2 separate regions of the Homo sapiens genome follow, and region 1 is linked to region 2. Evidence: promoter capture Hi-C in 16 types of primary human blood cells and fetal thymus (Javierre and others, 2016). All regions are on one chromosome and are shown on one strand. The core of a region is centred on a gene start or on the middle of the fragment in contact, and the rest is flanking DNA. Distances in the headings are between cores, read along the strand shown. Region 1 has its middle 9.8 kb from the start of FAM187B. Region 2 holds the start of HPN (hepsin).

Region 1 (2,700 bases), core at 193-2,692, 200 kb after region 2:
AACAGAGGTGGTACCATCTGCAACATCATTAGTTGCTATGGCAGGATAAGGGAGTATAGCAAATCATGAACTGGCAATTGAATGCTTTGGTCAGTGATATGGTTTGGCTGTGTCCCCACCCAAACCTCATCTCATATTGTAGCTCTCATAATCCCCACGTGTCATGGGAAGGACCCGATGGGAGGTAATTGAATCATGAGAGCAGGTTTTTCCCATGCTATTCTCATGATAGTGAATAAGTCTCACAAGATCTGATGGTTTTTTTCTTTCTTTCTTTCTTTCTTTTTTTTTTTTTTTTTTTTTTGAGGGAGAGTCTCACTCTGCTGCTGCCCAGGCTGAAGTGCAGTGGCACGATCTCAGCTGACAGCAACCTCTGCCTCCCTGGTTCAAGCGATTCTTGTGCCTCAGCCTCCTGAGTAGCTGGAATTACAGATGTGCACCACCATGCCCAGCTAATTTTCATATTTTTAGTAGAGAGGGGGTTTCACCATGTTGGCCAGGCTGGTCTTGAGCTCCTGACCTCAAATGATCCACCTGCCTCGGCCTCCCAAAGTGCTGGGATTACAGGCATGAGCCACCATGCCTGGTGAGATCTGATGGTTTTATAAAGGGCAGTTCCCCTACACACAGTTGCTTGCCTGCCGCCATGTAAGACACGCCTTTGCTCCTCCTTTGCCTTCTGCCATGATTATGAGGCCTCCCCAGCCATGTGCAGCTCTGAGTCCATTAAACATCTTTTTCTTTAGAAATTACCCAGTCTCAGATATTTCTTCATAGTAGCAAGCAAATAGACTAATACACAGATGGTAAACAAATAAATGACTAATAAAACATCAGGTCATGGTAAATGCTTTGAAGAAAAAAAGAAGGCGCAAAGAGAGATTGGGGATGGAGACTATTAGGGGATGAATTATGACCCCACAAGTTCATATGTTGAAACACTGACCCCCAATACCTCAGAATATGACTGTATTGGGAAACAGGGCTTTTAAAGAGGTAATTAAGTTAAAATAGGGTTGTTAGAGTGGGTTCTAATCCAATATGACTAGTGCCCTTAAAAGATGAGGGAATTAGAACCCAGGCAGAGGGATGACCATGTGAGGACATAGTGAAAAGGGAACCATCTGCACACCAAGAAGAAAGGCCTCAGAATGAAACCAAACCTGCCAACACCTTGATTTTGGACTTCTAGCTTACAGAATTGCGAAGAAATAAATTTCTGTTGTTTAAACCACCCAGTCTCTGGTGTTTGTTATGGCAGCCCTAGCCAACTAATATAGAGACTATTTTATTTTTATTTATTCATTTGTTTTGAGACAGGGTCTCATTCTGTCACCCAGGCTGGAGTGCAGTGGTGTAATCATAGCTCACTGCAGCCTGAAACTCCTGGGTTCAAGTGATTCTCCTGTCTCAGCCTCCTAAGTAGCTAGGACTACAGGGACGTGCCACCATGCCTAGCTAATTTTTAAAATTTTTGGTAGAGATGGTAGACTGGATAAAGAAAATGTATACACCATGTAGAGGCTTGTCTTAAACTTACAGCCTCAAACTATCCTCCTGTCTCAGCCTCCCAAAGTACTGGGATTACAGGTGTGGGACACCATGCCCAGCCTGTGGGGAGAGAGGTAGGTGAGAAGAGAAGGCTTCTCTGAAGAAGTGACATTTGAGCAGACCTATATAAGATGGTTATGAAGATTCACACAGCGGCTCATGCCTGTGATCCCAGCACTTTGGGAGGCTGAGGCAAGTGGAGCACCTGAGATCATGAGTTCAAGACCAGCCTGGCCAACATGGTGAAACCCCATCTCTACTAAAGATACAAAAATTATCCAGGTGTGGTGGTGCACGCCTATAATCCCAGCTACTCAGAAGGCTGAGACAGGAGAATTGCTTCAACCTGGGAGGTGGAGGTTGTAGTGAGCTGAGATTGTGCCACTGCATTCTAGCCTGGGTGACAGAGTGAGACTCTGTCTCAAAAAAAAAAAAAAAAAAAAAAAAAAATCCAGAGAAAGCAAGGTCTGAACTAAGCACACCGCACATGCAAAGGTCTTGAGGTGGGAACAGGTTTGCTATGTGAATACCCATCAGCCAAAGACAATCAGGCATGCACCTATGAACAAAGTTAGGTTTTTTGACTTGCTGCAGTGAGGGCAGATGTACACCATGGGGAATGGTGTGGTGTCTCAGGAAGGTGTCAGAGAAGACTAACAGAATTTGGGCTGTGTTGTATGATTGTGGGAAGGATTCAAAGAAGTGGGGATTTGCTTTGGGTTGGGTGCTATCAAAAAGTGTAACCAATTCTTTTTTTTCAAACTTTTGATTTTAAGTTCAGGGGTATGTGTGCAGGTTTCTTATAGAGGTAAATTTATATCATGGGGGTTTGTTGTACATATAATTTCATCACCCAGGTATTAAGCCTAGTACCCCTTAGCTATTTTTCCTGATCCTCTCCCTCCTCCCACACTCTACCCTCTGATAGGCTCCAGTGTGTGTTGTTCCCCTTTATGTATTTGTGTTCTCATCATTTAGATTCCACTTATAAGGGAGAACATGCGGTATTTAGTTTTCTCTTTCTGCATTAGTTTGCTAAGGATAATGACCTTCAGCTCCATTCTTGTTCCTGCAAAGGGCATGATTTCATTCTTTTTTATGGCTGCATAGTATTCCATAGTGTATATGTACCACATTTTTTTAATCCAG
Region 2 (2,852 bases), core at 1-2,500:
CCCGTCACCTTCCCCCCATTCCCGTCCCCGAATCTTCGAGCCCGCTTTCCAGGGACCCTACCTGAGGGCCCACAGGTGAAGCCACTTAGTGCCTGATCTGTGTCGGGGTTGGGGGAGCCATGGGCTCAGGGGTGAGGGAGAGTGGAACGGAGCCAGGAAGGGAGGGGGTGCCGTGGAGGGAAGAGAATCGAGGCTGATGCTGGGGTGCAGGGGTGGCATGGGGTGTGTGGTGTGCCCAGCAGTGTGAGTCTCTGGAGAGGTGGGCGCTGGGGAGAAGGAGAGGGAAGGAGAGACGGGTATGGATGGAAAGGCAGAGGAAGCCAGGCTAAACCAGCGTGTCCCAATGAGGGGCCCTGGGCTGAGTGGAGGAAATGGGTGCGGTGGAGGTGGGTTTGGCTGGGCACAGCGGGCACGTGTGGGTAAGCGGGTGGGGCCGGTTGTGCGGGTGGCCTATCTGGGGCAAGCAGCCGAGGCCGACTGTGTCCGGCGTGTGGTTGAGCACGGGCAGGTGTCTGGCGGTGACCCTGCACGTCTGGTGTTTACCTGGCCCTGGGTCTGACGTGGGCCGCGCCTGGCTGCTGGCGGGACAGTGTGTTATCTGCCTGCGGACGCTTCCGGCCACTTGGCCTGGGCCTCTGCCCTTAGCGCTGTGTTTTCCCGGCCAAGCCCCCCATCCCCCCTATCTAGTGCTAGGACTTTCTGGCTCCAGAGGTCACCGCGGCCGGGCGGAGGCTGCCAAAGCAAACCAGCCCCGTGACTTGTAGGAAGCCAGCGGGGGAGGGGCCGGGGCAGGATGAGCAGGGCAGGCGGGAGAGGCTGGGGCTGGGGTTGGGGCCCAGGAATTGGGCAGGGAATTAGGCAGAGGTGCAGCAAGTGGCGGGCACAGCCAGGACCTGGGGCTGGAGGACGCAGAAAGGGCGGGGGGAAGGGTTCGCTGGGTGAGGGTGGAGTGGGCTTAGGGCAGCTGGGGCCCTCCATCTGATCTCTTCTGGTCAGACCCCCACCCTTCAGCCTGCACTTTCTCCCTAAACCCCCAGCCTCCGGCCAGGCCTGTCCCTGTTCCCACATCCCCGCAGACAGGCACACCTGGGTCCCCCTGGAGGTCCAAGGCAAGCCCCGTAGCTGGGCCCGCCTGGTCCAGCCCCCACAAGCCCGGCCCCATCAGCCAGGTGGCCTCCAGTGCTGCCAATCGAATGGTCCGGCCCCTCCCCGCCCCTTCACCCGCCCCTCGCCCAGCCCCCTCCTCCTCAGGTGAGGCAGCCTGGCCTAGCAGGCCCCACGCCACCGCCTCTGCCTCCAGGCCGCCCGCTGCTGCGGGGCCACCATGCTCCTGCCCAGGCCTGGAGACTGACCCGACCCCGGCACTACCTCGAGGCTCCGCCCCCACCTGCTGGACCCCAGGGTAAGGACAAGGGCCCCCAGACTCACAGTTCCAGCCCTGAGGACAGGGGTTCCCTCATCCCCCCACCCAGCCTAATGCCCACCTCCTAATAGAGGGGTTCCTGGGGACCTGAAGAGGGGGCACTATGACGTCCCCCCAAGCACCTAGGTGTTCTGTCCTGCTCTTCCTTCAGACTCAGCCGTTGGACCCCAGTCCTTTCCTCCCCAGACCCAGGAGTTCCAGCCCTCAGGCCCCTCCTCCCTCATACTAGGGAGTCCTGGCCCCCAAATTCCTCCTTTCCCAAGACTTATGATTTCAGGTCCTCAGCTGTCTCCTCCCTCAAACCGGGATCCTCAGTCCCCTGCTCCACCAGGCTCAGGCATGGGGGTCCCCATCCCTGCAAATCCAGGCGTCCCCCCGCTGCTGGTCAGACACTGACCCCATCCTTGAACCCAGCCCAATCTGCGTCCGTGATCACGGCGTGCTCTGGCCAAGGCCCAGTCCCTACAGCCTGCCTGGATGGACGCCTGGGACTGGGGGCGCCAGGACTGGGCTGGGCTGGGCTCCCCCAGGCCCTGCCTCCCCGTCCATCTCCTCACAGGTCCCACCCTGGCCCAGGAGGTCAGCCAGGGAATCATTAACAAGAGGCAGTGACATGGCGCAGAAGGAGGGTGAGTCCCCTTCCCTGAGCCCCAGCTTTGGCTCTGCCTGGCGCCCCGCCCTCTGTGCTCTTTTCTCTACCCTCTACTCTTCGGAGCCCCCTCTCTCTGGGCACCCCTCCCAGATGCATCCCCACCCCTGTTAGTCCTCCTCCACCTGATTAACTATTAACCACATTTTCTGTGCAGCTGTGCCACCACCAGCCTCCCTTCTACCCTATGTGACCTTCCTGGCGTGCTGCCTCAGTTTCCCCTCATCCCCCAGTGATTTCTCAGCTAACTCTGGACTTGTCCTCTGCTGGGGCTGAGGCGGGGAAGCTGTAGCTGTCATGGTTAAGGACACAGATTTGGAGTGAAACACACAGGCTTGCATTTGAATTTGCTCTTGCCATCTTTTTTGCTGTGTGATCTGGTGCAAGTGACATTATTCTTAGGGCTTTGGTCTCCCTCTGGGTCAAGCATGGATACCAGTCCTCCCTCTGTGAGGTTGCTGAGTGCATGACACACACCAGGCACTGGTCTGGGGCTCTGCATATAAGACGCATGCCATCAAGCAGAGCTGTCATGACAGAGGTTGGCAAACTCGGAGTCCCAGAGACCCAGGACCCCCACCGATCCCAGACATTCCTCCACCTCCTGGCTCTGTGGGCAAAAGAGCAGAGGGAGGACTTTGGACTGGGCCTGGATGGATGGAGAGGGGAGAGACGGCAGAGAAACCACCATAAGGATGAGAGAGAGAGACTGCGTCATGGAGTTGCTGGCCCTTGGGAGTCTCTGGGCAGCCCCCAGCTAGCCTGGCTTCCTTTCTACCT

The links. The method cuts DNA at HindIII sites, captures the fragments that hold promoters and counts their contacts. A CHiCAGO score of 5 or more calls a contact.
Region 1: a contact is called between a fragment that was not itself captured here and the fragment with the promoter of HPN in region 2, in 3 of 17 cell types (total B cells, naive CD4 T cells and naive B cells). The highest score is 6.5, in total B cells.

What each region holds. Positions count from the first base shown.
Region 1 is chr19:35,237,142-35,239,841 of GRCh38, forward strand. No RefSeq gene overlaps it. Among named protein-coding and RNA genes, the nearest start is that of FAM187B, 9.8 kb to the left of the region's middle. The HindIII fragment of the contact is 5,085 bases long and covers 1-2,700 here.
Region 2 is chr19:35,040,471-35,043,322 of GRCh38, forward strand. HPN (hepsin) reads left to right here and starts at 1,251. Exons shown (of 13, transcript NM_001384133.1): 1 at 1,251-1,402; 2 at 1,983-2,052. The coding sequence starts at 2,037. RefSeq lists an enhancer at 1-722. The HindIII fragment of the contact is 15,827 bases long and covers 1-2,852 here.